Linked DNA regions of Homo sapiens: all the other regions are linked to region 1. Evidence: promoter capture Hi-C in 16 types of primary human blood cells and fetal thymus (Javierre and others, 2016). All regions are on one chromosome and are shown on one strand. The core of a region is centred on a gene start or on the middle of the fragment in contact, and the rest is flanking DNA. Distances in the headings are between cores, read along the strand shown.

Region 1 (3,412 bases), core at 242-2,741:
ACACTGCTTTCAAGAACACCCCGCATGGGGCAAGATCGCAGGTGCTATTCGGGAATTTTGACCGTACAAGCAGGTACTTCCCTGTAAAGTAAAAGCATTCTGTAAGTCGCTCGACAGAATGCAATATTAGGCGTGTGTATGCGCAAGTTTTAATTTTCCACTGGTGCTCCCACGTGAAGGCACATTTCTTAGTAAATGAACGGCAGCTAGGACAGTGCATATGTATGCATTTTCTATCTTTATTTTTTTTTTGTAAATGGGAAAGAATAGTGCACCTTCAACATGGACAACAGAATCTTGAGAAATGTTCTAGGTGGCAAGAAAAGTGGGAAATGAAGGATGACTTTTAGTTAAGGGAAGAAGGAAATCTGCAGTGAGCCAACCCTTCCCTCCCCCCCGCCCCCCCATTTCGGAAGCCCATGCTGTCGCCCTGAGTAATCTTGTTCCTGTCTATTAATGAATTAAGTTAAAAGGCTTAGACTGTAGACTTTAGCTACTGCATGAAGCAAAATAGTAAGGAAGCTCTTCAAAAAGCCTCCATTCATAGATAACCCCCCTTAAAAATGAAATTCTAATAAACGGAAAAACTACAAGTCGACACAATCAAAAGCAAATCCCAGCAAGAGCAGAAGGTACTTGAAACTCGAATCTGCATTCCGTTCCTCCCGTACAAGGCTCGGAGGTGGGGGAGGCGGTTTGTGCTGGTGCCTGGTGTATAATCGGGTTAATCCAGTAGACAAAGAATAAACCAATAGCCCTCCCACCTCACTTCCCGCTCCCCTTCCCCTCCCCCTTCTTCTCCCCCCGCCCCAGCCCCCGTCACCCGCTCCGCAAAGGGGAACAGAAAAGGGGAGAGGTAGACTTGAAATGGATTCTGGATAAAGTCTTAAAACCTGCAACTTGTTTTTCATGCTAACACTGCGTGGCCCAGATTAGTCTTAAATGTTCATTCCCCTTTCCTGGTGGCAAGGAGAAAGTTCCCTAAGTCAGCTCGAGCCTCTGGCTCGTCCTCATTGCCTCTGGGCAAACCTTAAGGTCAGTGTTTCCTTGAAACTAGATAAACTGACCCTGCAGTGCCCAGCCCGGCCCCGCGGGCGCCCCGCGTGACGGCGCTCGGGCGGCAGGACCGGCCTGGGGACGCGCGGGGCGGCGCGGTTGCCCTTTTGAATGCCTCCTGCGGCTCGGAGCGCTGGCGGGCGCTGGAGTGTGAGTGAATGTAGCCCCGCGGAGCCAATGAGCTGGGACCGGATGCGATATATCCTCTGGGACAACAACTGCTCTGTTCCGCCTCGGATCCACATGACGCCATTTACTGCTGCCGCGGCCGCCGCAGAGCTCCCTGCCTCCTCCGGAAAGGCGAGGGCGCAGGCCAACGGCGAGCCCCCCCCGGGCGGGCCCCAGACCCTCCTCCTCCTCCTCCTCCTCCTCTTCCTCCTCCTCCGCACCCACCGCCCCCGCCTCGGCCTCGCTGCCTCGCCTCCACAACGCCCAGTCTGCACCGCCGAGAGCTGCGCGCCGCAGCGCTAGCGGAGGAGAGGGGCCGGCGGAGCGCGCAGCGCCCAGGCCCCCGCGCCCGCCCGGCCCGGCCCGGCCCGCGCCCCCGCGCCGCCTCCGCTACGACGCGGCCCCGGCCGCACCACTTGGCGATCTGGCTTTAGGTTCTCCGTAAGGCCGTTTTCTTTTCCCATTCGCTCATCTGCCAGGAAAAGGGACTTGCCGTTGGCGCTTCGGCCTCTTGTTCATTGAGAAAAAAGAGGAAATACTCCGCGTGCGCTTGTAGAAGGGGAGTCGTCTCCAGCTCCGAACCCCGGAGTGTTCATCAGCGGGGAATCTGGCTCCGAATTCTCTTTTTTTCTCCCGCCGATTGCTCGGAAGTTGGTCTAAAGCAGAGGTTGGAAAGAAAGGAAAAAAGTTTGCATCGAGACTGGATTTATTTGCACATCGCAGAAAGAAGAGAATCCAAGGGAGAGGGGTTGGTGCAAAGCCGCGATCACGGTGAGGCACGTTTGGCTCTTCCCCTCCTGGCGCCGCGGCCGGCGCGTTGTGGGCAACATGGAGTAGGTGCAGCCGGACCAGGAGTTGGGTCCGTCTCTCCCCGAGCCTCCCTTTCTCAAATCCCGCAGGGTCTTCGCGAGGATCCGGGGCGCTCCCCGCGGACCTGCCTCGCCCGGGGCTTGGGCTCGGCCTGCCTCTGCGGGGACTTCTGTATGCACCCCGTGCAGTGTCCCCGACAGGCGACCCCGCGCGCCCGCGCTCTAGGGGGTTGGGACGGAGGACAGCTAGCCTGAAGTCTGCTCCCAGCCGTGCACTGGCCGCGAATTCGGCGCTGAGAGCGGGAGAGGGAGAGAAAAACACTTTGTATTTTCCAGGTTGCCTTTGCAGGCGCCCGCATTTCTAACCTGTTCTTCCTCTTGGTGGAAGGCAAAGTCCAGGGAGAGGCTGTCCCTAGGCGGGGCGCTGGTGGGGCTGGGGGACACAGGTTGCCCGCCTCGGGGGCAGGAGACTTCCAGGGTGAGAAAAAGGCAGGGTGCCGGGTGGAGGGAGTGCCCGCCTCTGCTCCGTGTGGACAGTCTAGCCCGGAGCGGGTGGGAGCGTCGCCCTGCCTGGCGCCGGGTCTCTGCGGTTCGGAAGTGCAGCTCTCTCTCTTCCGTTCTTCGTGGTCAGCCTGGGTCACACTTATTTTATTTTTGGAAGCTCGGGCTGACCCAGCGCAGGAAGAAAGTCATCAAGCGGTCGCGATCATTTTCCATTACCTGAAAGTAGGTGGCAAAATAGGCAATTTTTTATTTCCTTTTGTTGTTGTTGTTGCTGTGTTTTAATTTGGATTCTTGTGTGTTTTTTACAAAGCAGTTTCTGTGTCCGTTTGCCCCACCCTAGAGCTGAAGTTCTTTTCCCCTAATCCTCAGTCTGATCACACACTGTTCTTAATGGGGGTTTCAAAGCACTTTCAAAGGGGAGGGGGGACTGGGAAAGAGAAGAGGGGCGGAGGTAGGGAGTCCAGCTTTGAAGAAGGAGGCCAGGGATCGGATCGGCAGAAATCACTTAAAAAATAAAAACAAAAAAGCCCCCTTTTATTTCAAAGATGCTACTTTGACTGCAAGCAAATCTGCACCGAAAGTTTACAGCTCCGGGAGCTGGGTCCTGCGCGCCCGGAGTGAGCAGTGGGACCCTGGAAAATGCCCTTTTTTTAAAAAGCCATTTTTCTTTCACTTTAAGAAATATGATATCTTTTTTTTTTCTCTCGACCCAAAAGGAGATAGGCGTGTGCAGATTACAGGCAATGCCCCCTTCGGTCAGTGCAGCGTGGAGTCGCCGTGTGTGCGTGGGTTGGACTTGTGCGTCCTGGCTGCGTGTCTCAGGCAGGGCTTTCGTGCTCGCAGTGTCGGGGTGGGAAACCTGTGCCGGATGTCCG
Region 2 (3,412 bases), core at 624-3,123, 530 kb after region 1:
TCAATTATTTAGATTGATCAAGGAAAAAAGAGAACACTCAAATTAGTAGAATCAGAAATAGTAAAGGATATTTTTACTGATCATACAGAAATAAAAGGGATTAAAAAGGAATACTAGGAACAGTTGTATAACATTAAGTTGGGAAAAATAGATAAAGTAGAAAAATTTATAGAAAGATATAAGGTACCAAAACTGACTCAAGAAGAAATAGACAATGTGAATAGATCTATAACAAGTAGAGAAATTAAATTAGTAATCAAAAAACTACCCACAAAGAGGGGACCAGGGGCAGATGGCTTTACTGATGAATTCCATCAAATATTTAAAGAAGAATTAATAACGAATCTTCACAAACTTTTCCAAAAATAATAAAATGGGAGGGAACACTCCCCATCTTATTCTATGAGGCCAGTATTACCCTGATATCAAAACTAGACAAGAAAACTACAGACCAATATCTCTTATGAATAAGGATACAAAAGCCCTGCATAAAATGCTAACAAGTCAAATACAGCAACAGAAAAAAAGATTTATACACCATGACAAAGTAGAATTCATACCAGGAATACAAAGTTTAACATCTGAAAATCAACTAATACAATATATCATATCAATAGAATGAAAAACAAAAACCATGTGAGCATCTCAATACATGCAGAAAAGCATTTGACAAAACCCAGCACCTTTCCATGATGAAAGCACTTCACAAACTAAGAGCGGAATGGAGCTTCCTCAATCTGATAAAGGAAATCCATGAAAAAAGCTCAGAGCTAACACCATAGTTAATGGTGAATAACTGGATGTTTTACCCTAAGATCAGGAACAAATAGGTATGTTCACTCTTGTCAATTTTATTCAATGTCGTTCTAGAGGTTTTAGCCAAGGCAATTTAGAAGGAAAGGAAAGGAAAGGAAAGGAAGGAAAGGAAAGGAAAAGGAAAAGGAAAAGGGAAAGGGAAAGGGAAAGGGAAAGGGAAAGGAAAGAGGAAAGGAAAGAGGAAAGGAAAAAGGAAAGGAAAGGAAAGGAAAGGAAAGGGGTACCAAAATTGAAAAGAATGAAATAAAATTATATCTGCAGATGACATGATCTTGTCATTAAAAATCCCAAGAAATTTACTTTAAAAAATAATTAGAAGTAATGAGTTCAGCAAATTTGCAGGTTAGAAGATCAATATACAAAAATCAATTGTATTTCTATACAATTGCAATTAACAATCTAAAAATAAAATTTAAAAAATTTAAAAAATCAGAAACAATAAAATACTTAGAAAAATATTTAACAAAAAATGCAAAATTTATATTTTGAGGACTTCAAAATATTGTTAAAAGAAATTTTAAATGATTTCAATAAATTAAAAATAACCCATGTTCATGAATCAGAAGATTTAATATTATAGAGATGGCAATGTTCCTCAAGTTCATCTATAGGTTCAATGCAATCTCTATCACAATCACAGCTAGCTTTTTCTGTAGAAATTGACAAGTTGACTTTAAAATTATATGGAATTGCAAGGTACCCAAAAAAGCTATTTAAAAAAGTCTTGAAACAGAAGGATAAAGTTGGAGGACTCAAACTTCTCAGTGTCAAAACTTACTACAAATCAACAGTAATCAAGACAGTGTGGCACTGTCATAAGGACAAACATACAGAGAAATGGAATAGAATCAAGAATCTAGAATTAAATCCATCTGCCTATGGTGCACTGATTTTTGACAAGCGTTCCAAGCTTTTTAAAGAGAAAAGAACGATCTTTTCAACAAAGGATGCTGGAACAACAAGGTAGCCACATGCCAAAGAATGAAATCGAACCTCTAACTTACACTATATATAGAAATTAACTCAATGGGAGTCAAACACCTAAATATATGAGTGAAAACAATACAACTCTTAGAATAAAATATGGAGGTAAATTTTTGTGATCTTGCAGTTGGTAATACATTCTTAGTTATGACACCAAAAGCATGAGCAGAAAAAGAAAAAATAGTCCAAAACAATAGACTTCATCAAAATTAAAGCTTTTCTGCTTCAAAGAATATGGTCAAGAAAGTAAAAAGACAATCCACAGAATGAGAGAAAAAAATTGAAATCATATATCTGATAGGAGACTTACATCTAAAATATATAAAGAACTCATATAATTCTATAATAAAAATAATAAAAGCCTAATTTTAAAAATTGGGTAAAAGATTTGAATAAACATTTCTCCAAAGAAGTCATAAATGTATAAAAGTATGCTTGATGTCATTAGTCATCAGAGAAATCAAAACCAAAACGACAACACGATGCCATTTCACACCCACCAGGATATCTATACTCAAAAAGTTAGATAAGAGCAAGTGTTGACAAGGATGTGGAAAAATCAGAATCCTTACAGACTGCTGGTGAGAATGGAAAATGGTGCAGCTACTGTGTAAAACAGTCTGGCAGCTCCTCAGAAGGTTAAGCATAGAGTTACCATGTGACTCAAAATTTTACTCCTAGATATCTACCAGGGAAGATGAAAACATACATCCACACAAAAACCCATACATGAATATTTATACCAGCATTATTCATAATAGCCAAAAGGTAGAAACAACCCAAATGTCTATCAACTGATCAATGACCAAACAAAACATTATACATCCATCCATACGATGAAACATTATTTGGCCATAAAAAGGAAGTACTGCAGCCAGGCGCAGTGGCTCATGCCTGTAATCCCAGCACTTTGGGAGGCCGAGGTGGGTGGATCACGAGGTCAGCAGTTAGAGACCAGCCTGGCCAGCATGGTGAAACCCCGTCTTTGCTAAAAATACAAAAAATTAGCCTGGCATGGTGGAGCAGGCCTGTAATGCTAGCTACTCGGGAGGCTGAGGCAGGAGAATTGCTTGAACCCGGGAGGCGGAGGTTGCAGTGAGCTGAGATCATGCCACTGCACTCTAGCCTGGGCGACAAAGTGAGACTCTGTCTCAAAAAAAAAAAAAAAAAGAAAAAAAAAGAGGAAGTACTACCACACGCTTTGACACGAATGAACCTTGAAAACATTATGTTAAGGGAAAGAAGGAAATTACATAAGACAAAGACTATGTATTATATAATTCCATTTACATGAAATATCCTGAACAGGCAAATCCATAAAGACAGAAGGCACTTCAGTGTTTGTCTGGAGATAGGAGGGATGGGGGGTAGTAGCTAAAAAATATGGGGCTTCTTTATGAGGTGATAAAAATGTTCTAATTTTGGCTGTGGTGATGGTGACATGTATCTGTGAATATACTAAAAACCTTTGAATTGTGCACTTTAAATGGGTGATTATATGATATGTGAACTATATGTTAATAAAGATGTTATTTTAAACTTTTCTTTACAAAAGTAGGATGTGCACCCCAATGGCACTGTAAACAATTTTCTCCCATAGCTATTCCATTTT
Region 3 (3,412 bases), core at 636-3,135, 530 kb before region 1:
TGATCAAACTAAAGTTGTTACATAAGAATATTGAGGCTGCTTTGTCTATGGAGTAGCCATTCTTTTATTCCTTTACTTTCTTAATAAACTGGCTTTCAGAAAAAAAAAAGAAAAAGAATATTGAGAGAATTTGTATTACGTTATTTACCAGGGGAGAAATAAGGTAAAAGTGAACTAAATGTGTATTTTCTATAATAGGAATTCATTAGGTATTGTGTAAAATGAAAACTCAAAATATAGTCATTTTAACATACTATTTAGATATATAGAGGTGAATCCTAGACTTAACAGCTAAATTCACAGATAACAGATTTTAGAGTGGCCAAAATCAGGGCATGCAGGAGCTGGACAAAGAACTGCTAGAGTTTAAGATTTATCGAATTATTTAAACATTAAAATTGGGCATACATTAATTCAATAAGAATAAAATTTCAATTTAAAAATATCGTACAAGAGGAAAATACACATAATTTTGCAGAAGATGAGAACATAAAGAAAACTGTTTAGATACAAAAGGGCAAAAGACTAATAAGCATCTGAAAAATTGTAAACTCTGTTAATGATTAATATATGCGTATAATACAACAAAAATAGTTTGTGTTTGTTGACCTGATACAAATTTCTTTCTTCAAGTTTTAAAATTATTTACTCATGTTTCTGCTGCTAGTCTAATTTTTGCAATCAAGGAGCTGCCTCTTCGTCAAACCCATGGTCTAGTTACTATGGCATTTCCCATATGTTTGAATAGCCATTGTAGAGTTTTGACATCTAGCTTTACTTGTGCCCTTTGGAGATTTGCAACCTGAAACGTAAGTTTACATCTCGTGGTGTAGTTGTGAAGAAGTGAGATGAGATGAATGATATGAAGACATATGTGCATGTCTTGTTTGTAGAGCTCTAAATGCATAATTTTGATTTTAGTGGTTGCTGGGTAGAATGACAAGAGAACTGAATCAGTGAATAAAGTTCTCTTCTTTCTTTTTTAAAAAGACTAAATTTTCTATACAGAGACACTCATGAATTCATTTACATATAATTAAATATGCTTTTTATAAAAATAATAAACTGTACATATGAAACAAATGCTTAATTACACTCTATCTACATACTTGTTTTTATCCGATGACTACTCTACCCCACTCTCCTCTGCTTACTTCCTATTTGGTTCTTGTTCTCTCTCCCATCCTCTTCCACTCATATCCATCACCCAGCATCAAACCAGAAAATCTATTTAGTAGATATTATTCTCTGTTTTCCTCTAGGCATATATAATAATAGATAAGCATATATATGTATATACACACACACACACACACACACACACTATATATATAATATATATATATTAAAAATTGTGTGTGTATATATATATATATATATATATATATATATATGCACACATCTCCTTATCCATATATATATACATACACATATATGGGGAAGTTTTATTGATTTACAAAAGCAATAATTACTATATAATTTTTCTCTATTTTATTTTCTCACTTATTATAAACTCATGGAAATACCCTAATATGGTGACAGCATAATAATTCATGATACAATAGGACTATTTTTACACAGCCATTTTCTATTGATGACCATTCATTTATTTGCTGTTTTGTCTCTATGAATGAGACTTTGTAAAACAATAAGCTTTTATAACAAATATTATTAATCTCTTAATTTAATTAAATCAGCGAAATTAAATTAGATTCTTGGTTTAATCGTAACAAATTATAATCACTTTATTATATATCACTGGCTAAGGTATTTTTTTCTCCCTTAGCTTATAAAAATAGAGATTCCTTCCTCTGTGGTTAGAGAAGATGCTCTTCTCTAGTTCTGTAGCTATAGAATAAGGATTTCAAAAAGTTTGACATATAACCTGTACAGCAAATATGGTTAACAATGCTCCTGATAAAACTAATGTTACTCCTAGCTTCCCCTTCTCTCCTTCTGTCCTCTCCCTTCCTCTCCTCCTTTCTCTTTTCCTGTCTTCTCCTCTCCTTTATTTCCCTCCATTCTCCTTTATTTTCTCCTTTTTTGCTTTTCCTTCTCTGGATATTGTTTCAGATACATTATCTTCATACTCTTCACACAATCTTCACCTAAGCTTGCCCCTTCAGCTAAAATAAAAGATAATTTTCAACTTCCTCCTTAAAAAGTAAGTTTCAGAGATTAAAATTTGTTTCAAACAGGTTCCACATGACACATACTGAACTCATTCCGAGATGTATAAACGGCTGAATAACTACACCTGAATAAAGACTTACATGAGGGCTAAATCCTTCTCAAATTAAATGTGCATTACATGTACCTTCTTTTGGCAGACAAAAACCCATCCTTTATTTGCTGATTCAAAATGAGGCTGTGGAATGCTGAAGTTGAAAGAAGCTACAAGTTGTCTTTTAGAGTTGTATTAATAATAGCTAGTTAGTCCACACTACAGAAGGCTCCCATAGTGGTGGTAGGTGTGAATGCAGACAAGCTATGGCAAGAGAAATAATGGAGATGGAAAAAAAGGCTGGCTTGAGGGGAGTAGGGAGAAAAAACAATATGAGAAGAGAAAGGTGGAAAAGGAAGTCTAGAATGTAATAAACTCAAGGAAACACAGATCAAAAAGGTAGAGCTAAAATTTAATCAGTAAAATTAAAGGAAGAAGAACAGATTGTGGATAGTGATCTAGGTTCAACTGAGGAAACTCTTGCCAGAGTCTATGAGCCAGAGTAGTTGGAGCAGCCTTGTTTTCCAAGGCGGGGAATAATCAATCGCAGAGTTTTAACTTTTATTTTGGAGCTGTGCCTGAAACCCAGACTGAAAAAGTTTGCTTACTTACATGATCAGAAGCTGAAAACAATGTAATTTAATTTAGGCAGCCCATGTGTGAATCTAGTTAAAAACCAATACATTTGGATTAATTATGTATTTTCCAGGTCTGTATCAAGTGCAGTCCATTCAGAAAGCAGAGATAACATCTTCGTACTGCATACATCAAGGGAACAAGAAAATCTATTTTGTATCCTTGGCATTTGATAGAAAATGACTTGAATGATTCCTTTTAGGATGCTGTTTTGTTGACAGTTACAATGTAATTGAAAAAGAAGCCTCCTACTTTGTTTCTTTCATGAGGCAGCATGGATGTGAGCAGTGGCCCAGGCAAGAATGTTTCCGCTGGACACTAGCTTTTGCTTTTTTTAAAAATGCTGATTTTTATTACATTCTAAAAATGAGCTATGCCATGTAAAAAGGCAAGTTTAAAGCAAAAATTGGAATTTTAAAGTTTCTCATTGGAGACATTGGTCAATAGCTGACTAAGAATGGCAATTTATGGCCCGAGGTGTATTTAACAAAACTGTTTTCTGTGTGGGTAACTACTGATGCAGGCATTTGGCTAATAATGGGCACTTGAAGG

Evidence for each region. Contacts are between HindIII fragments. The CHiCAGO score rates a contact against its expected background, and 5 or more counts as called.
Region 2: a fragment that was not itself captured here is called in contact with the fragment with the promoter of SPRY2 in region 1 in 5 of 17 cell types (monocytes, M0 macrophages, M1 macrophages and 2 more); the score reaches 8.4 in monocytes.
Region 3: a contact is called between a fragment that was not itself captured here and the fragment with the promoter of SPRY2 in region 1, in 2 of 17 cell types (naive B cells and M1 macrophages). The highest score is 6.0, in naive B cells.

The regions. Positions count from the first base shown.
Region 1 is chr13:80,339,205-80,342,616 of GRCh38, reverse strand. SPRY2 (sprouty RTK signaling antagonist 2) reads left to right here and starts at 1,491. Exons shown (of 2, transcript NM_005842.4): 1 at 1,491-1,995. RefSeq lists silencers at 1,074-1,123, 1,354-1,543. The HindIII fragment of the contact is 9,098 bases long and covers 1-3,412 here.
Region 2 is chr13:79,812,765-79,816,176 of GRCh38, reverse strand. No RefSeq gene overlaps it. Among named protein-coding and RNA genes, the nearest start is that of LINC01038, 10 kb to the right of the region's middle. The HindIII fragment of the contact is 289 bases long and covers 1,729-2,017 here.
Region 3 is chr13:80,866,489-80,869,900 of GRCh38, reverse strand. No RefSeq gene overlaps it. Among named protein-coding and RNA genes, the nearest start is that of LINC00377, 150 kb to the left of the region's middle. The HindIII fragment of the contact is 460 bases long and covers 1,656-2,115 here.